Linked DNA regions of Homo sapiens: all the other regions are linked to region 6. Evidence: promoter capture Hi-C in 16 types of primary human blood cells and fetal thymus (Javierre and others, 2016). All regions are on one chromosome and are shown on one strand. The core of a region is centred on a gene start or on the middle of the fragment in contact, and the rest is flanking DNA. Distances in the headings are between cores, read along the strand shown. Region 1 overlaps NMRK1 (nicotinamide riboside kinase 1). Region 2 overlaps OSTF1 (osteoclast stimulating factor 1). Region 3 has its middle 100 kb from the start of OSTF1. Region 4 has its middle 85 kb from the start of OSTF1. Region 5 overlaps OSTF1 (osteoclast stimulating factor 1). Region 6 holds the start of RFK (riboflavin kinase). Region 7 overlaps OSTF1 (osteoclast stimulating factor 1).

Evidence for each region. The method cuts DNA at HindIII sites, captures the fragments that hold promoters and counts their contacts. A CHiCAGO score of 5 or more calls a contact.
Region 1: a fragment that was not itself captured here is called in contact with the fragment with the promoter of RFK in region 6 in 1 of 17 cell types (non-activated CD4 T cells); the score reaches 5.7 in non-activated CD4 T cells.
Region 2: a contact is called between a fragment that was not itself captured here and the fragment with the promoter of RFK in region 6, in 7 of 17 cell types (activated CD4 T cells, non-activated CD4 T cells, naive CD8 T cells and 4 more). The highest score is 9.1, in activated CD4 T cells.
Region 3: a fragment that was not itself captured here is called in contact with the fragment with the promoter of RFK in region 6 in 2 of 17 cell types (total CD8 T cells and activated CD4 T cells); the score reaches 7.1 in total CD8 T cells.
Region 4: a fragment that was not itself captured here is called in contact with the fragment with the promoter of RFK in region 6 in 1 of 17 cell types (naive CD8 T cells); the score reaches 5.3 in naive CD8 T cells.
Region 5: a contact is called between a fragment that was not itself captured here and the fragment with the promoter of RFK in region 6, in 2 of 17 cell types (non-activated CD4 T cells and activated CD4 T cells). The highest score is 6.2, in non-activated CD4 T cells.
Region 7: a contact is called between a fragment that was not itself captured here and the fragment with the promoter of RFK in region 6, in 2 of 17 cell types (monocytes and M0 macrophages). The highest score is 5.9, in monocytes.

Annotation. Positions count from the first base shown.
Region 1 is chr9:75,065,907-75,069,242 of GRCh38, forward strand. It overlaps NMRK1 (nicotinamide riboside kinase 1), which reads right to left. Exons shown (of 9, transcript NM_017881.3): 7 at 3,090-3,196; 8 at 851-934. Among named protein-coding and RNA genes, the nearest start is that of NMRK1, 21 kb to the right of the region's middle. The HindIII fragment of the contact is 1,185 bases long and covers 1,332-2,516 here.
Region 2 is chr9:75,092,074-75,095,331 of GRCh38, forward strand. The region is part of intron 1 of OSTF1 (osteoclast stimulating factor 1); the gene reads left to right. Among named protein-coding and RNA genes, the nearest start is that of OSTF1, 5.2 kb to the left of the region's middle. The HindIII fragment of the contact is 1,544 bases long and covers 479-2,022 here.
Region 3 is chr9:75,190,848-75,194,257 of GRCh38, forward strand. No RefSeq gene overlaps it. Among named protein-coding and RNA genes, the nearest start is that of OSTF1, 100 kb to the left of the region's middle. The HindIII fragment of the contact is 3,842 bases long and covers 185-3,410 here.
Region 4 is chr9:75,171,960-75,175,504 of GRCh38, forward strand. No RefSeq gene overlaps it. Among named protein-coding and RNA genes, the nearest start is that of OSTF1, 85 kb to the left of the region's middle. The HindIII fragment of the contact is 3,156 bases long and covers 128-3,283 here.
Region 5 is chr9:75,137,962-75,141,446 of GRCh38, forward strand. OSTF1 (osteoclast stimulating factor 1) reads left to right here. Exons shown (of 10, transcript NM_012383.5): 9 at 2,873-2,971. Among named protein-coding and RNA genes, the nearest start is that of OSTF1, 51 kb to the left of the region's middle. The HindIII fragment of the contact is 2,818 bases long and covers 1-2,686 here.
Region 6 is chr9:76,392,240-76,395,726 of GRCh38, forward strand. It overlaps RFK (riboflavin kinase), which reads right to left and starts at 2,187. Exons shown (of 4, transcript NM_018339.6): 1 at 1,851-2,187; 2 at 179-330. The coding sequence starts at 1,932. It also overlaps a transcript of GCNT1 not described here. RefSeq lists enhancers at 1,458-2,271, 2,134-2,428, 2,606-2,845 and silencers at 1,636-2,125, 2,166-2,245, 2,266-2,325. The HindIII fragment of the contact is 5,359 bases long and covers 1,270-3,487 here.
Region 7 is chr9:75,107,470-75,111,005 of GRCh38, forward strand. All of the region lies in intron 1 of OSTF1 (osteoclast stimulating factor 1), which reads left to right. Among named protein-coding and RNA genes, the nearest start is that of OSTF1, 21 kb to the left of the region's middle. The HindIII fragment of the contact is 3,922 bases long and covers 307-3,536 here.

The sequences.
Region 1 (3,336 bases), core at 674-3,173, 1.3 Mb before region 6:
TTGAAAAAGATATCTTTTTACCCTGGGACTGATGGACCTAGGAGGATGTTGTTGTCAACAGACATCAGGTCAGTGGAGAGCCTGACTTCAAAATAAACCCTAAATAGAAAGTAGAATAGAAGCAGAGTCCTGAGGACCTTATTTGAGTTCCTTAACCCATTAATGTTGGAGGTTGCAAATTATTTTTGTGAAAAACGAGACCTTGGTGATGACCTTCAGCAGTAGGATATAAATAACTCCTACAAGCTTAGAGTTCCAACAATGGAACACTAGGCATAAATGAGTTAATCCAGCTGAGCCTGAAGCCACCATTACCCCTGTACTGTCTTTCTGCTGTAGCCATATTTAGGCAGATCCCTGTCACTTGCAAACAGTGCCGTCCAATATGAAAACCTTAAACAAACACTTCATAATACTTTTTAAAATCTTTTGTTTATCTTTGAGGTATTTGGAAAGTAGAAATTTTACAGAAAGTCTTTAAGGGAATAAAAGAAAAGGGGAGCTCTGGACATACTAAAAAAAATCATCAGCATTTTAATTATACTGTGCCCAAAGGATACTTCCAGTCCCATTTGGTACAGCCATCTACTAAAAGTTTTAAAGTAAATCACATAAATAGCATTAAGAGATGTAACAAAGGGTACATGGTTTTACCCCTAAAAACAGACAAAATAATTGAGTCTCCAAACCCCCCCCCAGAATTTCTGATTCTGAATTATCCTCAAAGCAAAGAATGGATGAGCACAATCACTCCTACACTAGCATTCTGGTATTCCATTCTTTCATATGTAATGAATGATTTTCCTGGCTGTTTCTCCTCTACCATCCACTTTGTTAGCACAATACTTACACTTTTGCTTTGCTAGTTCTTGTATTAGATCTTCATATACTTGCAAAAAGAGGTCCTCTTCAGATTTTGTTCCATCCAGGTACACTACGAAGGGGAAAAGAGAGCAGTTCAAATGCTAACAGGCTTATTAATATACAATGTTTACTTTGACACCCAACATCTCTTGTAAATGCCAATAGGTTTAACCAAGGCACCCAGGACCATAACTTAAAAGGAAATTAATAGTGATTAAAGAAAGAAATAGATGCTAGCCAGCTATAATAGGTCAAAAATATTGGATTGTTACAGATAAATCCACACTGGCTTATGTGAAAATTATTTAATTAAAAGAGAAGAGAAAGAAAGAAGAAAGGAGGAAAGAAACAGAAGAAAGAAAGTGGTGTTGTGCATACGGCACTTTAGGTGCACTGAAGGTGTTCACCCAAAAGGGTCACTTAAGGAGTAATTCTTCAACATACTTATACATCAGGATCACCTGGGAAGCTTCTTAAACAATGCAGTGGTCTGGGATCTGCAACATATGTACAAACTCAGAATTCACCAGGCTCAGAAAATATGTATTGTGTGTGTGTGTATGTTTGTGTGTGTGTGTGTGTGTTTTCTGCTATCAGAGAAAAGACGTATTTTTAATAAAACTGGCATAAGCAGCTTTGGAGAAAAAGTAGAAGTTGTCTAGGTTAAAGGAAGGAAAGGGCCTTCTGGTCAGAAAACAGCATGAGTAGGGAGAGGCAAGAGCACTGATGCACCCTTTGGAATGGCTAGAATATGGGGAAGCTCCAGGAACAGCGTGAGATGAGATTTTAGAGCAAGGGTGTACCTCAGTACCTCAGTCGTTAGAGGCCTTGATGTCTGGCTGTTTGGATTGTATCTCAAAGATCTGGAGATGACTCAAGGTATTCAGCAGAGCAGGAGCCTGATTAGATTTGCATTTTAGGTAAAAGGGAGAGAAGGGAAGCAAGAGGATGTTCTTGCAACCAATGGTCCAAGTTGGACGTGGTGCAGCCAGAATCTCAGCATTGGCCCTGGGGGTACACTCTGTGTGCATTCCACATGGCTCTGACATAGCTGCCTATCCTGGAGGCCAACAGGCTTCTCACAACACAGACAAGTCCCCTTTATTGTGAAAAGCATACATCAGTTCTAACTCCTTTGCCTTATCCAACAGCCTTCTGCCATCTTCCCTGCATTGAGTGCCCTATTCCAGTGATCTGTTCTTAGCTCAAGCCCACAGATCCGGATGCTTACCTCCAAATTGCTACATATGTCTCCCAGGCACCTCAACCTCATTATGTGCAAAAGAGACATGCATTCCTCCCTTACAGGTCTGCAATGCCTTCACTTTTTTCTAACATCTGTCAGTTGCTGAGGCATCTGTCATCTTCCCGCCCCCTCCATAGCTGTTCTATCACCCAGTTCTACTGAGTGCGGGCGTCCAACATCACACCCTATAAATCTATCCTCCTCCATTCTCCACACAGCCAGAGGGGTCTTAACTAAAACAAGAATTTTTATCAATCATGCCCTTGTTTAAAACTTCTCTCTAGAGAGCTTCTTACTTCTCTGAGAACAATGATCAAAGTCCTTACCTAGATTATTGGCCTTATAGGGTCTGGACCCTGCCTGTATCACTAGCATCAATCCACTCCCCTGGTTTTCTTTACTAGAAAGCTTTCTCAACACCAGCTTTCTTTCAGGGGTTTCTCATTCCTTCCTGTCCCCTGGCCCTTTCGTGTGCCACACCCACTTTCTGGGGTAATCTTCTATCTCCCCAACCCATCTCCTTTGTTCAGTTAAACTCATTGAAGTTTGGTTAAATGTGACTTCCTCAAGGAAGCCTTTCCTGACTACCGGGATCTCGGCAGTCCCCTAGAACTTGGTGTCGCAGAACTTACAGCAGCTGGAAAGGACAGGCTTGGGCCGCTGGTATCTCTAGCACCTGTTTCCATGATAGAATGTTACCTGCATAAGAGCAGGGGCTGGGTCTGCCTCATTCCCCTCACCATCTCCAGGGCAGCACTGGAAGGCATTCATTCAATACTGGTTGAATGAATAACCATCCAGAAGCTGACAAGAGCCACAGAGAGAAACAGAAACCAGGAGAACCAGCTATGGAAAAGGAGAAGCCCAGAGTGTTCTTGCTTAAGCATCCCTTTATACTTTTCTATGAGTCCTTTCTTTTCTATACTTTGAGGCAAATGACAAGTAAAAGGCCTTGAACAGAAGGAGAAAAGGCACTTACCAACTTCCCATGTGATGTCCTGCATTTCTTGTCTGTACTTTAGATACATGGGCCACACATGGCCATCAAAGTATCCCGGAGAGTCTGGAGGCTGATAGACCCTTGTACTATCAAAACACGTAGGAAACTTTATGTTGACAGAAACACACAATTGATAAAGTAAAATATGAATGGTCAGGATAATGGGGAAATCACTCAGAGGCTGAATCTAAACAGGATTAGGACTACATGTACTACATGTTTTAAC
Region 2 (3,258 bases), core at 1-2,500, 1.3 Mb before region 6:
CAGTAGACAATACTAAAAGGAAAGGAGCTAGGTGAGTAAGGACAAAGGACTTGCTGGAAGATATTAAAAACAAGGGACATTAAGCTATAATGCAGGCTAATAGCATCTTTCTGGCTGATCAGCACATCCCCAACAGGGGGCCGATTTGTGGAAGGAGGCTGCCCAGGGAAGTCCCGGGCAGATGCTAGTGGGAGACCCTGGCCATTTTTGTACCATCTGGAGGATAGATCAGGGTTACCTTGTTTGGGTTTTTGGCCATATCCAGAATTCATTTGCTAAACAAATGTTTCTTAATAAATGTAGCTCATATATTAGGCCCTGTGCTAGACACTGGGGTTCCCAGGAACAATAATCTATGGTGTCATTCACGAGGGTCCTGAGTCTAATGGGGAAGACGTATGTATCTACAGATATTACCTAGAGTATCCCATATTTACAAGTGGATGGCTGATCTCATTCATTTTGTTTTTTTTAAAAAAGCTTGTAAGTAAAAATATAATTTTTTTATTTTTAGAAAATTTAGAAAAAGGTAAACAATAAATATATAACTAAAATATAGGAATCATCCCTGTCATCTACTGATAATCACTATTTACATTTGGTTGAATATTCTTTCAGGTTTCTTTCTTCTTCACATCCATTTCATTTCAAAAAAGAAAATAAAAACAATTACCCTCAGAACAGCGTCTCAGCTTCCGTTTGAAAAGTCTTGCTGTTGGTTGGCATATGTTTCCAAAAGGCTATACGGTATTGCCTGCATTCTGCTTGAAAAATCAATTCTGTCGCAGTTTGACCTTTCCTTGCTTACTGATTTTGTTTCTGTAGAATCACTTTTGGCCACACAAGGTCTGTCATTGAAACTTTCTCCCTTAACTGTTATCTGTGCCACCATGGTACTCTACTAAGATGTGTTGCAATTTCGTGGTCTTCAGCTCATTCTTTATGATACCCTCTTTCTTTCTTTCTTTCTCTCTCTCTCTTTCTTTCTTTCTTTTTTTTTTTTTGGAGATGGGATTTTGCTATGTTGACCAGGCTGGTCTTGCTCTCCTGTGCTCAAGCAGTCTTCTTCCTTCCTGAGCTTCCAGAGTATCTGGAATTATAGATGCTCACCACCAAACCTGGCTGAGACCCTCCTTTCCTTTTTCTGAATGAGTACAACCTCTTAGTTTTACACATATAGCATTTATGTTGTTTTCAGCCACTCTCAGAAGCCTTGCAGTTCAATTAGCGTGAATCTGTCTGGCTTGTTAGAGTGTAGAAGTGTAGAAAACAGAACTTTTGTTCTTGTAAAATCTTTTTAAAAATATTTTATTCTGAGAGTAAGAATGGGCCAAAGGATACTGAATGAGATTTGGGCTGTAGAATCATCTCATTCTAAGCAGGTTTGGTAACTATCTATTGTAGTTGGAAACCTGGTGTCTGACCTTGGCCATTTTTTCCAAATGGCTTATTGATTTTGGTGGTGAAAGTAAAGCATAAATATTTCATGTGCCTTGTGAAAATAAATTCATGGAACTTTGAAGAAGCAAATGTCAGTGTTTCAGGTTTTTTTGTTATTCAGAGTAAAAACATCATAAAACTTAAAAGACATCACACGCATGCTGCTTAAATAACATTTTTGAGAAAAAAAGGTTTTTATCTAAAATGAACTTAATTTTTATGTATTTTTTACCCCAACAAAGGAATTAATCAAAAGTGAGGTGAAATATGCACGTGAATAGTCTTCTTTTATAAACTTGATACTTTTTATACCTGTTGGCAGAATAAAGCCTGAGAAACATCTTGAAAATTTCACAATGATGATGATGATGGGAATGGTTAACATATATTTGGCCCCATATGTCAGGCACTGCACCCAGCACTGTGTATGCTCTGTCTCCTTTAATTATTCTGACTTTCCTATCAGGTGGGTGGGTCCTCATATCCCTGTTTTATGGATGAAGTAGTACTTAATGAGGTCAAGTAAACTATCTAAGATCTCAAAGCTAGTGAGTGGTTGGTGTGACCTGGAAGTGGAACAGAAGCTTTAATTGAGTCCATGCATATGAGCAGAGAAACCTGCCAGAGATGTTATTGGGTTGGACCTGCTTTTGTTGGACAGTCATTTTATTAGCTTATGCAGTTGTATTATTGGTATTTGGTTTGTGTAACTGCCCTCTTTCAATGGATCCGTATTAGAGCATTAAACTATGCACTTTTTGAGAGTGGAACAGTCTTTTATTTCTTTGTAACTGCACAGCCACTAAATCGTTATGAATGACAGATAATGTAAAACGCTTTGATACAAAAAAAAGGTGGGTTTTTTTTTTTTTCCCTGAAAGAAGGTGGGGGTGGACTCAGAGACTGTGATTGGGCTTTTCTTGTAGCTTTACTACAAAGTAGCAAAGGCTGGAGGTTATGTGCTTCTGATAAGCATTCCTCCCTTCTGGAAATACTGGGGTCCCCTCCCTTGGCGTTTCAGCATTCCCACAATTTGACTTACGTGACTAGTGCAGTGAGATTTTCTAATACACACCTTATACCTCAGGGCATAACAGAACCCATTGCCAAAGTTGTCCTCACTTGCTTAATGGACAGGGAAAGACTACATTAAAAAAAAAATGATACAGGGACACCTTTCAGTGGGCTGATATGAGTGAGGTGTCAAGATTCTCTTATCAAATTAAAGGAGTTTCAGAAAAATGTACAGGCCAGGCACAGTGGTTCACACCTGTAATCCTGGCACTTTGGGAGGCCCAGGCAGGCAGATTGCTTGAGCCTAGGAGTTTGAGACCAGCCTGGGCAACATGGTGAAACCTTTTCTGTACAACAAATATGAAAAAATTAGCTGGGCTTGGTGGTGCGTGTTTGTAGTCCCTGCTACTTAGGAGACTGAGGTGGGAGGATCACTTGAGCCTGGGAGGCCAAGATCGTGCCACTGCACTCCAGCCTGGGTGACAGAGCGAGACCCTGTCTCAAATAAACAAACAAACAATACAACACAAATATTAGAACCAGGAGAACTTCCTGGTTCTTTTAAATAACTACATAGTATTCTGCTGAGCTCATTTAACCAGACCCTAATTAACGTACTTCTGGATTGTTTTCAATCTTTTGTTATAACAAATAGTCTCCCAATAGTATTGTTGTTGCTTACACACGTAAATCCATAGGATAAAGTCCTGGCAGTGGGATTTGTTGTTTCAGAGGGTAAGTGCACTGCTGTTTTCATAGAAATTTCCAAATCGCTTTTCAAAGAGGTCATACCAGTTTACTTCC
Region 3 (3,410 bases), core at 856-3,355, 1.2 Mb before region 6:
GAGGTGTGCCAATTATTTATCTGCTGTCTCTAAGCTGAGCACTTACTCTTTCTTACTTGCTTCTGTACTGCTAGTTCTGGGAGTCTACAAACTACATTTCCCAGGATCCTTTGCCAAGAGGCTGCCTTTTAGGTTCTGTCAGTAAGTGGCATTTATGAGAGTTCAGAAGTGGGAGGAAAGGGTAAGCTTTCTGATTCTGGCTTCCATAACAGTGGAAATTGTTGAGTTGCCAGAAATTGCTGGTGATTGTTGTGAGGATTGTGGGTTATGGCAACTACCAATTCCAGGTGTCTGTTCCAGCAGCAGTAGCACCTCTTAGGCATTTCCATGTCTCCTATGTCTGGGGAGGCTTTCACTGCCCTAGGCTGCCTCCTCATAAAAAGAATGAAGGAAAATGAAATAGTTATTGATTTGCTGACATCCAAACACATCTTTTTTTTTTCATGGAAACCAACACCAGAAATAGTAAATGGGAAATCAATTAACCTTACCAATTCTCTATTCTTCCTGAACAAGATGGATAAATTATATTAATGTGCTGTATATATATATTTTTAACCTGAGCTATTGGAGAAATAAGAGAACCTGTTAGATTTGAAATAGATTTGTAACATTTACAGGAAATTTGCTTGTTTATAACACAGTACTCTGGCCAGGACGTATGCTTCATCAGGAAAATGTCATAACTGAATTGGAAATAGGAATTTGAAGCCATTTACTTCTCTGTAAATGAAAACACATTCAGTCTTACTCTTTTGGTGATACCAGATAATACCATTTTAAGGCCATAGGTTCTTGCTTTAATTATATTTGTCATCATGTTAATTAATTTCTGCTTCTGTGTATAGTTGCCCAGGTAACACATGTATGTGTCTGTGTATGTATGTGAACTAACACCTTAATTAGTGGAGAACACTGGCCATATGGATCACCAGAGTTTTTCCATATTAATTACCTTTACAAGTCAATGAAGGAACAAAGGTAAAGGCAAAAGAATTGGAACCAGGCCATTTTTTTTTCTAGCATAACACAGTTTTCCCTTACTTGGTTAACAAGGAAAGTTGAAAAACTCTTAAAGAAACTCTAGCCTAAAGCATTGAGTCTTTCAGAAGGGATTTCCAAACTAAACTATGAAGACAAATTTGGACAAGAAGTAAATTTTTTTCTTGGTTATATTCCTCTGAAAAGCATATTATTTAATAAACCGTTGGTCAATTACTCTGGAGTGAGAATTGCATTCTTCTGAATCAAACGATCAACATAAACTTCTATTAGGTTGGTACAAAAGTAATTGCAGTTTTGCCTTTACTTTTAATATGTGTGTGTTCATGGGAATCTTTGCTTGTTTGTTTCTGTGGTTGTGTCAATCTATGTACAGCAAATTTAGTGTGATCCCTGTCTCCTCAATTTGGCGTAGAGAGAAAAATACTAACTTGGGAATCAGAAGAATTGGGATCTAGCTTTGGATAAAAGGGCTAATACTTTAATATGAAAAGCCTCTTAGGAGACTTCACCACAAGAAGGATCATGCATAGTATTGTTTACAACAATGAAATCTGGAAAAAAATCACTAAATTTCTAATAATTGTGAATTGTTTAAATACATTTTGGTACATTTATGTAATGGAATTTATGCAGCCATTTAAAATATTGCTGTAGAATCATATTTACTGGCATAAAATGATGTTTCCATAGATAGATTTACTTCATATAATGACTGTTCATTCAACAATTTTTGGCCATATTGGCTATTTCACAGTTATACAACTTTTCAGACAATGTTTAAAAAAATTTAACTATTTTTCACCCAAGCAATACTAAGTAAATATGCGATATGAAACATTATATCCTAAAACATAGTTTTAGGATAACCATGTTAACCAAACCAGATTGTTTAAACATTATGCTTTTAGGATAACCATGTTAACCAAATGATTTTAGGATAACCATGTTAACCAAACCAATTTTCTCAACACAGTAGTTTCTAGTCAAATAATATAATGTGAAACAAGTAGAATTGGGCACCACATTAGGTGATTCTAAATACTTTGCTTTGTGTAGGTTCACCAATCCAGTGGGGTAAAGACATAGTGTCTCTGTGTGCTCTTTCCATACTTTGCTAAGAATTATAAAACTGATATGGTTTGGCTGTGTCCTCACCCAAATCTCATCTTGAATTTTAGTTCCCATAATCCCCACATGTCGTGGAAGAGACCCAGTGGGAAGTGATTAAATCATGGGGGCGGTTTCCCCATGCTGTTCTTGTGATAGTGAGTAAGTTCTCATGACATCTGATGGTTTTATAAGCGTCTGGCATTTCCCCTGCTTGCACTCATTCTCCCTCCTGCTGCCCTGTGAAGAGGTGCCTTCCACCATGATTGTAAGTTTCCTGAGGCCTCCCCAGCCCTGCTGAACTGTGAGTCAATTAAACCTCTTTCCTTTATAAATTACCCAGTCTTGAGCAGTTCTTTATAGCAGTATGAAAACAGACTAATACAAAGATTTAGCCTTTATTTTACCCTATAGATAGCTTTCAGTGATCTAACTTTATTTCTAAGTCCAATTATTTCTAATTTGAGTGCCAAATATAATCATGAATCCCTGAAAATGTGAAAAATTGGTAAAGAAAATGGTGTATAGAAAATTCATCTTCCAAAAGAATGACTTTCTCACAACTGTCCCCAACCAACATCCACTACGAAGACTATTTGTCCTCATTTTGTGAGTACAATAGATCTTTATTATATTTTAGTCAATATACAAACCATATTCAGATACTTTGGGATACTGTTGTCTGCTGTTTGTATAAACTTGTTTTTATTGCTTAGTTAGCAATGTGAAAATTGTTTGGGTAAGGTAGGTTAAGATAAAAAAGTGTCATAAATTTTTTCGTTAAAAATTAAAGAAAAAATTTAAATTTACTTTTTTTATATTTAGAAAGGCTTTTCAGAATTGAGTAATGCTGTCAAGCATGAGAGAAGTGAATTATTAAATTCAATAAAGCAGATTGCAACCTACAGGTAGCAAAAGATAGACATAGTAGAAATATATAGATGGATATATAGATAATAAATTGAAAAGATATATACCAAAATTGTTCCCAGTGATTGTGTTGTTAGATGATGGGGGTAATCTAATTTTTAAATTAAATCTGATGACTTTCCTCCCTCCCTCCCTTCCTTCCTTCCTCTTTCTTTCCTTCCTCCTCCTTTCTATCTCTCTCTTTTATTTGCTTAAGTGGCAAGATAATATTTTGAGATATAAACTAAAATTCCCTCCCTATAGGTTTTGTATCTCTTCGTCAGTCTGATATAGTATGAAATTTATCTTTATACCGTAGAGATGGGCTGACACAGAGCAGATTGCAGGTAAAAGAAAAGTAATTTTTAACTTTTGTATTTTTGAAGTTA
Region 4 (3,545 bases), core at 456-2,955, 1.2 Mb before region 6:
AGTAGGGCTGGAACAGAGTGAAGGAGGGAAAGACTTTCTAGGACAAAGTTAGAGAGGTAAGCTGAAGCCAAATAATCCAGGTCAGTGTCAATCCTTGATGATGGGATAAATACAGAAATTGAAAATAAGCTTGTAAAGCCTTTTAAATGATTTGACATAGTGGTTTGATAGCTCTTCAATCTAATGAAAAAATTGGACTTATATTTTGATGTCTTATTTCTGGTTTCATTTTTTCTAGTAATTCATTTTTATTTTATCTTATAAAAGTATCCATCAGAGAGGAATTGAAAATTGAAAAGAAAAAAAAAAAAAGAAAAACAAGCTGGTTCTTTACCATAGATAGTTTGAGAAGCATTGCTGTGAGATCTTATAAGTTCCAGTAAAGAGTTAGATTTTATTTTTAAGTTCAAAGGGAAGTCATAGAAAGTTTTAAGTTTTAAGATTCACTTGAATTGATTTATCCTTTAAAAAGACCACTATGGGGCTAGTTTGGCTAGCACACATGTCAAAAAGTGGACTCCTTTGGCAGATGAGGATATATTTCCTAGGCATTTTATTGACACATGAAAAGGAAAAGAGTAATAGAAAAAAAAGAATTAACGAGAACTGAAAGATTGCATCTTAGAAATTGTAAGAACTGATACCTCACCTGTTCCTACAGTCCAGTAAAAATTCTGTAAGCCTTTTTCTTTTTGAGCCATTTGGGGCTGGGATGGGGAGAAATGGAAACACATGTTAGATAAACAAATTACTTTTTGAAAGAGCTATGGCATTTGCTGGATGGAGAGTAGATTGAAGGTCTTCAAGGCAGGTATGGGGAGAGCTGTTAGGAAGACCATTACAAGGTCTGCTGTAGCTGGTACTAGGGTTGTGGCTATGAAAAAATGGGTAGTGGATGGATTCTAGATATATTTTGTTCATGGACTCACAGAACTTGTTAATATAGATTGGATATGGTAGAGTGAGGGAGAAGTAGACGTCAAGGAAAATTCTTGGGTGTCTGACTAAATAACTGAGTCTATGGTGATGCACCATTTACTGGTATAGGGAAGAGTTAGAGAGTAACAGATTTGGAGGGGAGGGGGTATGAGGAATAGTGTGGGCAAAGGGCAAAATCAAACAATGTATTTTCTACATCTTGAGTTTAAGGGTGTGAAATACACAAGTAGAGATGTCAAGTAGGCAGTTAGGTATATAACCTATATATACGTTGAGCTGTTAGGTGTGGTCTGGCCTCAAGATAGACATTGGCGGGGGTGATCAGTGTATGGGTGGCATAGATGGTGTTTAATGATATGAGAAGAGAATAGTTATTATGGGGCTTGAGGACTCCCAGTCTTTACAACAGATGTCAAGAAGGGCCAGCAAAGGGAATGTGGGTGGAGTAAACTGACAAAGAGGAGGGAGCAGGAACAGTGTAGAACCACTGAAACCAAGAGAGGAAAATGTTTAAAGAAAGAAAGAGGAATGTGGCCGGGTACAGTGGCTCATACCTGTAATCCCAGCACTTTGGGAGGCTAAGGTGGGTGGATCACCTGAAGTCAGGAGTTCAAGACAAGTCTGGCCAACACGGCAAAACCCCATCTCTACTAAAAATACAAAAATTAGCCAGGCATGGTGGCGCAGGCCTATATTTCCAGCTGCTTGGGAAGCTGAGGCAGGAGAATCACTTACACCTGGGAGACGGAGGTTGCAGTGAACTGAGATCACACTACTGCACTCCAGCCTGGGCGACAGAGTGAGACTCCATCTTAAAAAAAAAAAAAAAAAAAAAAAAAAAGACGGGAATGAAAACTTGTGTGAAAAGTTGCTGAAAGAAATAGTAAGATTAGCCCAGAGGATGGTAACTGTATTTGGCAATATCAAGGTCATTGGTGAGCTCATAATTTTCTAATTATTCTTCTGGTAAAGATGAAACACTTTCCCTGTGAGAATGATCTATGTGGAGATAGTAGTCTTTAGTTTTGTGACAGCCTCTTCCTTAGTGACTGAAGCCCTTCTCCAGCCTAATAGTACAACCATGCCCATAACTATCCCAATATTTAATCCCAATAATCCCAGTGATCTCTTACCTAATCATGGTGAATAAATGCTACTACGCTCAAGGTTCCTACCAGGCTTACTTTCCTTCTGCTTTCCAACACTGTACTTTGTGCACTGACTTTCCTATGCCCCCAAACCAATAGATGCCACACCTTATTATATCCAATTCCTGTATATCTCCATTTGTATGGCATGTTGGACTTTTTGCCTTAACACAAGTCTGCAGGATCTGTAAGCCATTCTTCAGTAATTATTATTCATCTCCAAAATTCTGCCGCATGGGTCTCTTGAACCTCAAAGCCATTCCATACCTGGGAAGGAATGGTTAATATATCACATACTAAAGGATTTTACATACATAGATTGTAAAAGAAGGCATGAAAACAAGAAGTGAATTTTATTTGGACTGTAAATTATATACCGTCCAAAGGACACTTGGACATCATGTAAACAACCTGTCCCTGACCGATAGTTGTGGGAATCCTTCTGTAACATCTCCACAAAATAGTTATCCAGACCCTGCTGCTACCTACCCCTCCAGGGAATGGAAAAATGCTACTTCCTGAGGCACCTCATTACATTTTTAATTAGCTCTAAGAGAAAGAGAATGTGTAGTTTTATTGTACCAAGACTTTCATACACTCCTCCAAGATTTTTTTTGTTACTTTGGAATTAAATCTGCCTTTTCGAGATGACAGCCCTTTAGATATTTGAAGACAATTTTGAAAGTCAGCCTACATCTTCTGTCCTTCATTTCAAAAACTGTGACCAGAAGATAATCTGGGTTACACCTCATCTCTCAAGGCTGGACACGCCGCCTCTCTCAGGTACTTGGATCACCAGTCATTTAACTTTATCCTATGGAAGTAGAGAGTGCTGGGTAGGGGCTGGGAAGAGAAGAAAGGGTTTAACTTAATATTTGAGAAAGCTCTTTCCCACCCTTTGCCTGATAGCTGTTGCTAGCGACAACTGGTATTGGGAATGCTTCATAACGGACTTCTTGAGCAATAGAGAGACAAGTTATTATTTAAAAAATGTTTCAACAAAGCTAGAATAGCAAAACTAGAATTCATATACCTCTGAAAAGCTATCATTAGCACTTATGGTGGTTATAATTATTGAAGAAACCAGGGAAAACATTCCTTGAAGAAATATAGAGTTAATAAAGATGACAAAAGTTCTATCAGGATATCAAAATATATACCTACTTTATGCTCCTATGCTGATTTTAGGAAACAAAAGCTTTATCTTTTGTTCTATGTTCTATTCAGTAATATCTCCAATGATTGTACTAGCTCACAGAGTACGGTGGTTAGTTACTATGTAAAACACTTACATAAGTGGTGGATTTAAGATGGCCACACATTTTTTACCCCGCTACCCAATTACAGGTAGAGTTTAATTCTCCTACCTGGCTTTTGCGACACGCATCACTAGTAGAATGCAGTGGAAGTGACACTCTGGGACTGAAGGCTTTGTTAAAAGAAGACTTCCAGCTTCTA
Region 5 (3,485 bases), core at 28-2,527, 1.3 Mb before region 6:
GTAAAGTTGCTGAGGCCCCTGTTCTCACAGGGAAGTCTTGACAGATAAGCAAGAATGATGCGGCTGCAATGTCCTGCTTTGAGCTGAGCAGGTGCTAGATGTAAAGTGAACGAGAGAGGATATCTTGATCCCCTGTTTTTATAAGTCAGAGGAAACAGTGAATTTATAAACTGACTATCCCTTTATCCTTTTGTCCCACAAATATTAGTTTACTCTTAGAGAAGGCCAGGCAGATCACCTATACCATACTCTAGTCCAGAAGCCTATCATGTAGGATGCTTGAGTCCCCAAGACACTTGTCATGGAATTACCCTCATTAGGGATCCTCAGAGCAATATTGTGGGATATATGATAGGAAATGGTTTAGATTTTAAGTATGCTGGTGATGTAAGCTGCAGGTCTAAAAGGCCAGACATTATGAGGATCACTCTAGTGCCCTGTAAAGGGTATACTGATGACTTTGATGCCTAATATGGCAGCCACTAGCCACGTGCACAACTGAGCCCTTTAAATGGGGCTATCTGAATTGAGATGTGCTGTAAGTGTAAAATGCATACCAGATTTCAAAGACTTAGTGAAACAAAAAGTAAAACATCACAGTAATTTTCATGTTGGTTATGTGTTGAAATGATAATATTTCAGATATGCTGGGTTAAATAAAATATATAATTAAAAATAATTTCACATTTTGCAAATGTGGCTGTTAGAAAATTAAAAATTATATATGTGGATCACATTATATTCCTATTAGTGCTCATCTAAAGGGACCCAGGAAATAGTTGTGTTTCTTCTTTATCATCACTGTCTCTGAATATTTCCTGTTCTGATAGAAATCATGTCTATGAGCTCTAAAGTATAATATAGTATATGATTAGTCACAGAACTGTTAACCCTCAGGAGTTTTTGATCTGTAGCACACTGAGAGAATGAGGTTTTATATAACCCTACTGTGAATAGAATGATCTGCTTAGGAGAAAGATTTTGACACAAGATCATTATATTACTAATTAAACATACTATTTTTTTTCTTGATGCAATATTTCTTTGCCTTTAAATTTGGGGACACTTCTTTCTTTCTTTCTTTCTTTCTTTCTTTTTTTTTTGAAACTGGGTCTCTATTGCCCAGGCTGGAATGCAGTGGCATGATCTCGGCTCATTGCAACCTCCGCCTCCAGGGCTCAAGTGATTCTCCCACCTCAGCCTCCTGAATAGCTGAAATTACAAACGTGCACCACCACACATGGCTAATTTTTGTAGAGATGGAGTTTCGCCATGTTACCCAGTCTGGTCTTAAACTCCTGAACACAAGCGATCCGCCTGCCTCAGCCTCCCAAAGTGCTGGGATTACAGGCGGATGAGCTACTGTGCTGGCCTATTTTTGTTTATTGAAGGGGAAGTGGTTGCAAAAAAAATATGATACTTTCCTACACTGTGGCAGAAAGTATGAACTGACAAAGCCTTCTTTTTTTGTTTTTTTGGTTTTCTTTGAGACTGTCTGGCTCTATTGCCCAGGTTGGAGTGCAGTGGCGCAATCTTGGCTCATTGCAGTCTCCGCCTCCTGGATTCAAGTGATTCTCATGCCTCAGTCTCCCAAGTAGCTGGGATTACAGGCATGCGCCACCACACTTGGCTAATTTTTGTATTTTTAGTAGAGATGGGCCATGTTGGTCAGGCTGGTCTTGAACTCCTGACCTCAAATGATCTGCCCGCCTTGGCCTCCTAAAGTGCCAGGATTACAGGCGTGAGCCACCGTGCTTGGCCTAAAGCCTTCTTGGAAAGCAATCTTAAAATCAGAGATGAAAAAGGAGGTATTACAACTGATACCACAGAAATTCAGAGGATCATTAGAGACTAGTATGAAAAGCAATCTGACAGTAGCTGTCAGAATTTAAAATGGACTTAGCCTGACTTTCCAATACCATTTTTAGTAAACCATTCTTCAGAAATACGTGTGAACAAAGATGTTGTTCAAGGATGTTCACTGGAGTATTTGTGATAATGAAAATTAGGAGTAGCCTAAGTGCCCGTCAATACAGGAGTAATTAAATTTTGGAGCACCACAAAATGGAATACTTAAATGGTTGAGTTACAAATATGTGTATTTGCTAAGAAAACAGTACCATTAGACATTAAAGTTTTAAAAACATGAAATCACAGACCAATACGTGTAGTACGATTTTGTGTCTATATCAATATGTGTATGAATGCACTGATGCAAATAAGGGAGATAAGAACTCACACCCACTTGTTAAGAATGGTTACCTTAGGCGTAGGTAGAAGATGAAGGAATGAAATGGGACTTGTGCTTTTGTTCAGCATACATTTGTATTTTTGAATCCTTAACAATGCAAATGTATTCATGAATTCTGATGTAATTTTGAACACAATAAAGGCAAAGGAAAAGTGGGTAGAAGATGGCTTATGGGAATAATGAATTGCCTCTTGGTTTTACGTGTTGCTATTCTGTTAATTTGCATGAGAGCAGACTTACAGATATAAAATATTAATCCCCTCAAGCACTATCCACTTGGTCTTTTCTAAAGACCCTCTTGAGCAAAAGAGGAAGCAAAGGGCTCATTGAAGTCAAGCCCCACAGGGACCATAAACTCCTCACTGAAAAGTTCACATGCAATTCTATAGGGACTCAAAAGGTTCGGAATTAATTGTTATCACAGGTGCAGCAACAAGCTTCCCGATTAAAGATGCCAAATTATACTGCATGAGAAAGTTTATTGTTTTGAGAACGTTTACTTCTGAGCCAGAGTTGTTCACTAGTTTATTTTGCCAAAAGTTGTTAGCTGTGGGGAGAGAGGATTGGCTACTACTATATAGTCTTCAAAGACACCTAATTGACTTTTCTTGTGTTGGGAAGGTGCTAGAACAGACTTAAGAAACATTGAGAAGAAGCTGGCCTTCGACATGGCTACCAATGCTGCCTGTGCATCTCTCCTGAAAAAGAAACAGGGAACAGGTATTTGTTTTAAATTCTTCTTTCTCCTCTGGTGCCCCATAACTAAGATTTATTAACTTAGAATGGCGCAAAAGAGATAAACTCAGCTGAGTGCAGTGGCTTATACCTGTAATCCCAGCACTTTGGGAGGCCAAGGCAGGAGGTTCACTTGAGCCCAGGAGTTGGAGACCAGCCTGAGCAATAAAGTGAGACCTCTGTCTCTACAAAAAGTACCAAAAATTAGTCAGACATTGTGGTGTGGGCCTGTAGTCCCAGCTACTCAGGAGGCTGAGCTGGGGGATCACTTGAGCCCTGGGAGGTTGAGGCTGCAGTGAGCTGTGATCGCACCACTGCATTCCAGCCTGGGTGAGAGCAAGACCATATCTCAAAAAAAGAAAACCAAAAAAAAAAAAAAAAAAAAAAAAAAAGATAAACTCTTCAGATGATTCTGAAGTTTGTTTCAATATCCTTGATCTTAATGAGAACCCCCAAAATAGGACACCCTCAATTAAACAGAAATTAGACAAGAAACATA
Region 6 (3,487 bases), core at 937-3,436:
ATTACTTTAAATGTAAATGAATTAAACTCTCCAATTAAAAGACAGAGATTGCCCAAAATTCCAGTATTTGAACTACGTTGTGATTACCACTGATAAGCTATTTCTGTAACGAATACTGTAATATATTATTCTAAGTCATCATACCATTTTCGGTTACAGAGCAAAATATAATGCTTACCATAGACTTCTTCGTATTCTTGTAATATGGGTTCCATCCTATGCTCACCACCATCTTATGGACATCTCCACTTCCAACACTGGCCCAACCATAGTAAATACCAGTGGATATATCAGCTGGAAGATTATCTACCACTTGCTCAGGAAAATTAGCTAAACAACAGAAGAAAATATTTTGAGTCTTACAAATTTCGTATTAAATGCCTGTAGCCGAGTGCAGTGGCTCATGTCTGTAATTCTAGGACTTTGAGAGGCCAAGGCAGGAGGCTCATGTTGAGCTCTGGGGTTTGAGACCGGCCCGGGTAACATAGTGAGATCTTACCTCTATTAAAAAATTAGCTGGGGATGGTGGCCTGCACCTATAGTCTAAGCTACCAGAGAGGCTGAGGCAGGAGGGTCAGTTGAGCCCAGCAGATGGAGGCTGCAGTAAGCTATGATCGCACTACCACTGCACTCCAGCCTGAGTGGCAGAGCCAGATTCTGTCTCAAAATAATAATAAGAAACAAACATTTGTAAAAATCACATGCAAGGCTAATGTAAATCATTACATTCACAAGACTCCTACAACTTTGCCTGTAAGTATCAATCCCATCCTTCCATTTTCCGGCTCAGATTTCCCTCTCCTATTCATGTGAATAGGTTATGAATAAAGTACCAGGTAAGTATATAAAGCTCTCCAAAAAAATCCATACTCTTTGAGTAGGATGCAAAAAACAAGTACCAGAGTAGATGGATTTTTTCAGATCTGTTCTTTCCTAACCAGGTACTGAATCACCTGAAAAGTTTCTTTCTTTTTTTTTTTTTTTTGAGACGGTGTCTCACTCTGTCGCCCAGGCTGGAGGGCAGTGGCACGATCTCGCCTCACTGCAGCCTCCGTCTCCTGGGTTCAAGCGATTCTCCTGCCTCAGGTTCCCGAGTAGCTGGGATGACAGGCACGCGCCACCATGCCCAGCTAATTTTTGTATTTTTAGCAGAGACGGGGTTTTACCATGTTGGCCAGGCTGATCTCGAACTCCTGAGCTCAGATGATCCGCCCGCCTCGGCCTCCCAAAGTGCTGGGATTACAGGCGTGAGCCACCACGCCCGGCCAAAGCTTCTTATTTTTCAAATACACAAGCTCAAGGCTGACTTAACAAGTCAAGACGCAGCTCTGGCATGTATTTCTAAGGATGAATTACAGTCAGGTCTCGATTATTGAAATTAATGTAGACAGACCAAGAAGGTTAGCTGACTCTCATTCAACTACCTATGTTATCATTTGGACATTACATAATTACAAATTAAAAACAAAACCACCTTAGACCCGGCTTGCGAGTTCAGCCGTTCTGGCCCACGTTACGTCTCTAATGGGCAAGACAAGCGCAATGCTTGACCAACTGTACCTTGGCTGGCCAAGGAGGCGTGAACGGGGAATCCTGCGATTCATCTCGGGCTTCCGGCCCTCACCACCCCTCAACCCCGTCCCCGCGGAGCTCGGAGCCAGAAGCAGGGACAAGCTCCCTCAACCGAGCCAACGGTCCTCCGCCACAGACAAGGGGATGCGGGAGGAGGAAGGGTGTGCTCTCTGCCCGCGGTCCGGAGGCCCCACGCCCCGGTCCCAAGTCCCCGGCTGCCGTCTCTCCCCGCTCCCCACGTGACCCGGCCCGGGGGACTCTGGCCGCCCTGCTCTCACCTGTGGGGATGCCCAGCTGCTTGGAGCCGCGGCCGAAGCCCCGCACCACTTGACCCCGGCAGAAGTAAGGCAGGTGCCTCATAATGCAGTCCGCTCGGGGAATGGGCTGCGGCCCGGTCTGCGCGTCCTGCGGAGCCGCCGTCGACGCGGCGCCCAGACCCCGGACCAGCCGGGGGACAGGAGCGTGAGCTCTGCCTGCCGCGGGGGCGCACCAGTGGCCGGACGACGCCGACCACAGGCCACTGCGAATCCCTGACGCCGCCGACCCAACAAATACCGCCGGGCGCCTGAGGAGCTGCGTCTCCGCTGGAGGGCAGCGGAGACAGCCGAAGTAAGTGCCGGGTGTGAGCGGGGTGGGGGGAGGGGGCGGCCCGAAGCGCAGAGCCGGCCTCCGCGCCGCCGGCGTGCGCTCCCTTCCTCAGCCGAACGCCTCGAGCCCGCTCGGCTTCCGTAGCCCCGCCCCATCATGGCCCCGCCCCGCCGCTGCCTCGCCCGGCTCCCGCCGCAAGCTCCCGCTGCAGGCTCCCGCCCCAGGCGCCTAATGTCTGGATCCCGGGCTTCGTTTCAGCCCCTGGCGATGGGAACTAATGTGGAAACCCCGTTTTCAGCCTGAGAGCCGCGAAAGCACAATTCTCGAACAATTCTGGTTTTTTTTTCTCCTTCCTCCTGTTCATAACAATCCGGAAGCCAAAGTGAGACGCTCTTTAGCTCCTTGGCAACCGCTGGGTTGAACGTCAGGCATCGCTCGTTCCGTTCGCTCTTTAAGTATTTATTAAAGCTCCAAAATTCAGCTCAAAGATCGCCTCTTCACAGAGGCTTTTCCTGGCCGCCCTACCAGAAGCGGTCGTCCTCCAGGACCACTGACCACGTTCTGGAGTTATTAATATATTCGAATGTAAGCTCCAAGGGAGAAGTCCCTGTCTGTGACGCTGTTAACCCCAGAGACTAGTGGAAGGTTACCGACATGGGCGGTGACTGTCCCCTCCAGGCTGTCTTCTTGACAATTTCACAAGCCCGATAACAGGCCGTCCCTCTACTGCAATGCAGATAGAGGCCTTCGTACCCTCGGAACTGTAAATACGCACGCTCCTAGGGAAGTAGCTCTGGGCTCACTCACAGGATATGCAGGGTGCAAGGTTATAAGAAGGTGCATCCTCTTAACGTCTCGAAGACAAAGAAGTTTTTTATTTATTTTTTTAAATTTTTAATCAATGGAATCCAGAGAAGTTTAATTTTTTTCTTTTTTGCTCTATACATTTGTATAAAATTCTGTGCAGACCGTGTAGTCTCTTTCTACCTTACATGTATGCATCTCTGATAAGATTTACCTGATATTAAATTTATGTTCTAGGCCAGGCTTGGTGGCTCACGCCTGTATTCCCAGTAGTTTGAGAGGCCGACGCGGGAGGATTGATTGAGCCCAGGAGGTCGAGGCTGCACTGAGCTATGATAACGCCACTGCACTCCAGACTGGGCGACACAGTGAGACACCCTCACCCCTTAAAAGAACTAGAGAAGAAGAAGGAAGGGAGGGAAGGGAAAGGAAAGGGGAAGGGAAAGTGAAAGGGAAGAAAAGGGAAGGGAAGGGAGAGAAGGACCCAAAGAAGCAATTATGGTCAGTTACTTATCTATACGGA
Region 7 (3,536 bases), core at 1,018-3,517, 1.3 Mb before region 6:
TCTTTCATTTTGAGAGCTCTAAGATTGCTTGCAATTATCTGCTTTTGGGGGAAATGGGAGAATATTGTTTTTTATATACTTGCTGAGATCCACAAAGTAGGAAAATATTCTTTATAGAGTCCTGTAACAATTCCTAATTTTATCAGATAGTCTGGAGCAATGGCTCCCAAACATTTTTTGACCTTGAACTTCAGTAAGATATGTATTTTTCTTGATAACCCAGAACATAAAAATACACACATACATGACCAGAGGGGAACACAGAAGTTCGCTTTAGACTCAAATTTTTTCCAAAATCTACCATTAAGCTTTGGATAACTGGCCAAATGGTGGAATGCCAACTTTATTTGGCACACCAAGACTTCTGCTTGAGCAAGGATTATAGAGTGCATCGGTAACCCTCATGCCTCATCACTTTAGCAGCATCAGTAATGCAAACAAGGCATGACATATGGATTTACTGTTACCTTAATATTCACTTTGAAGGTTGGGCCTGGTGGCTCATACCTGTAATCCCTACACTTTGGGAGGCCGAGGTGGGAGGATTGCTTGAAGCCACGAGTTTGAGATCAGCCTGGGCAACATGACTCCCGTCTCTACAAAAAATGAGCTGGGTGTGGTGGTGCATACCTGTAATCCCAGCTACTTAGGAGGCTGAGGCAGGAGGATCTCTTGAGCCTGAGAGGTTGAAGCTGCAGTGAGCTATGATTGCACCACTGTACTCCAACCTGGGTGACAGTGAGACCCTGTCTCTCAAATAAATAAATAAATAAATTAATTAATTAATCAAAGAAAAAAGAAAAAGAAAAAATTTGCTTTGGAAACAAGTAATTTCTCTAAATGTAACAGTTACAATGTGTGCCTTTCTGATTTGCCTTTTGTGGAGGTGGCATGACCAGGGTAACTTTTTTTTTTAATTCCTAGGACTGAAATCATTTTCTTCAATTTTTCCCCAAGAAAATTTTCAATATTAATATATTGAAATTCTCTCAGTTGAATGTATAAATGATTATTCATTGTTGGAGGAGTAAATTATTTTAATAATTAATGATGATAATGAGTCCGAATTTTAAGTATGAAAATTATTATATAAAGAGTAAAAATTACAGGCATAGATTGAGAATTAATGTTGAGAGAGTGTGATTGCTAGTAATTCTGGGGAATCCATTGTATTCTTTGTGGGACTACTTTCAGTGACATTATATCATCATCATTAAGCAAATATTCAGGCCCAGGAGATGAAGAGATTAAGTCTTGACCTCAGTTGGTTCCTATCAGGGAGGAAGGATAGCTTACTAATGTGCTGGCAGCGTCACTTCCGGCAGCAGTGACTCTGGCAGAGCTAGCGCAAGAACATCTTGCTTTTTCTACAGACCTTGTTTTAGAGAGAGGATTTGTTTAGTTTTACAGAAGTCCCATCAGGCTGCAGTTAACAGTACCAAGGAATTACCATTTCTGCCCTTTTATATCAAACTTTTAAAGTGAGTCTACCGGAATTTTAGTAATAAGAGTGTAATTTTAATTATTTTTTTGGATAAAATCTCAGGTTTATTCTTTTTTTTTTTTTTTTGGGTGGAGTCTCACTCTCTTGCCCAGGCTAGAGTGCAATCTTGGCTCACTGCAGCCTCCACCTGCTGTGTTCAAGAGATTCTCCTGCCTCAGCCTCCCAACTAGCTGGGATTACAGGTGCCCGCCAACACGCCCGGCTAGTTTTTGTATTTTTAGTAGAGATGAGGTTTCACCGTGTCGGCCAGCTGTTCTCCAACTCCTGATCTCAAGTGATCTGCCCGCCTCCACCTCCCAAAGTGCTGGGATTACAGGCATGAGCCGCCATGCCCGGCCAGGTTTCAGATTTATTCTTGTATCCCAGTAGTTCATTCTGTTAAAGCCACATTTGGCTTTGGCAAATATTAATTTTAGCATTTGGTCATTTGGCATTAGGCCAAAAAATGTGTATTTGGTAAATTTATTAATTAAATATCCATCTACCTGTCCATGCCCAATAAGACAAAATTTCACAAAACTGTAATTTCTTCTATTATGTATAGTGTACACTGGTCTTTCTGACCCATTTAATTTTCTTAAAGTCAACTAAATTAGTTTCTCAATCTACTAATAGGTCATGACCTTCAGTTTAAAAGTGTTGAGGTGACTCACTGTGTTCTGGGATTAGTGAAACAGTGAGGAGGGGTTATTTTTGTATGCAATATTTTCTTCCTACGGAAGATGACCGGAAGGGATTTCTAGTTATGTTCCACTCCCAAAAATGCAACTTAAGGTCTCAAGGCATGTTAAGACTAGTAACAATGAATTAATGCTACCACCAAACAATTTTCTATAGTGGCTGTACTAATTTATGCTCCCACTAGCAGTATCTGGGAATTCTATTTGTTCTATAATGCTTAGCAATGCTGGTATTGTTTTTAAATTAATAGACTATTTTTTTTAGAGCAGTTTTAGTTTTACAGCAAAATTGAGTGGAAGGTACAGAGATTTCTCATATACCCCTGCTGCCACACATGTGTAGCCCCTCCATTATCAACATCCCTCACCAGATACAGCATTCTTAAAAAGACATTTGTTAGAATTGATGAATCTTCATTGATGCATCAATGCATCATCATCATCCAGAATCCATAGTTTATGTTAGGGTTTGCTCTTGTTGATGTGGTTTCCATGGGTTTGGACAAATGCGTAATGGCAGTGATACTCTAATAAACCATTAGAGTATCATACAGAGTCGTTTCACTGCCCTAAACATCCACTGTACACTGCCTTTTCAACTGTACCTCCCCCAACCCTTGACAACCACTGATCTTTTTACTGTTTCCATAGTTTTGCCTTTTCCAGAATGTCATATAGTTGGAATCATGTAGTACATAGCCTTTTCATGTTGACTTTTCACTTAGTAATACGCATTTTAGTTTCCTCCATGTCTTTTCATGGCTTGATAGCTCATTTCTCTTTAGTGCTGAATAATATCCCATTGTCTGAATACACCACAGTTGATTTATCCCATTGTCAGTATTTTTCACTTTAGCCATCAGAGTGAGTATGTAGTAGTTATCATAGCCATTGTAAGTGAAGCCCATCTAAGTGTCTCACACTTCTTAACATTCTTAAAAAGACATAAGTGAAATAGTCTATCTATTACAGATGGCCAGGGGCTGATATTTTAAATAGTCATTCCTCTTGCTGTTTATCGTATATCTGTGTATCTGTCTCTTATAGTGAGCAGTTTCTTTCTTTTTTTTTTTTTGAGACAAGATTTCACTCTGTCATCCAGGCTGGAGTGCAGTGGTGCAGTCATGGCTCACTGCAGCCTTGACCTCCTGGGTTCAAGTAGTCCTCCCACTTCAGCCTCCTGAATAGCTGGGACTATGGGTGTGTACCAACCGCAACCACACCTGGCTAATTTTTAAATTTTTTTTGTAGAGCTGGGGTCTCATTGTGTTGCCCATGCTGGTCTTGAACTCTTGGGCTCAAGCAGTCCTCCACTTTGGCCTCCCAAAGTGCTGGGATTACAGGTGTGAGCC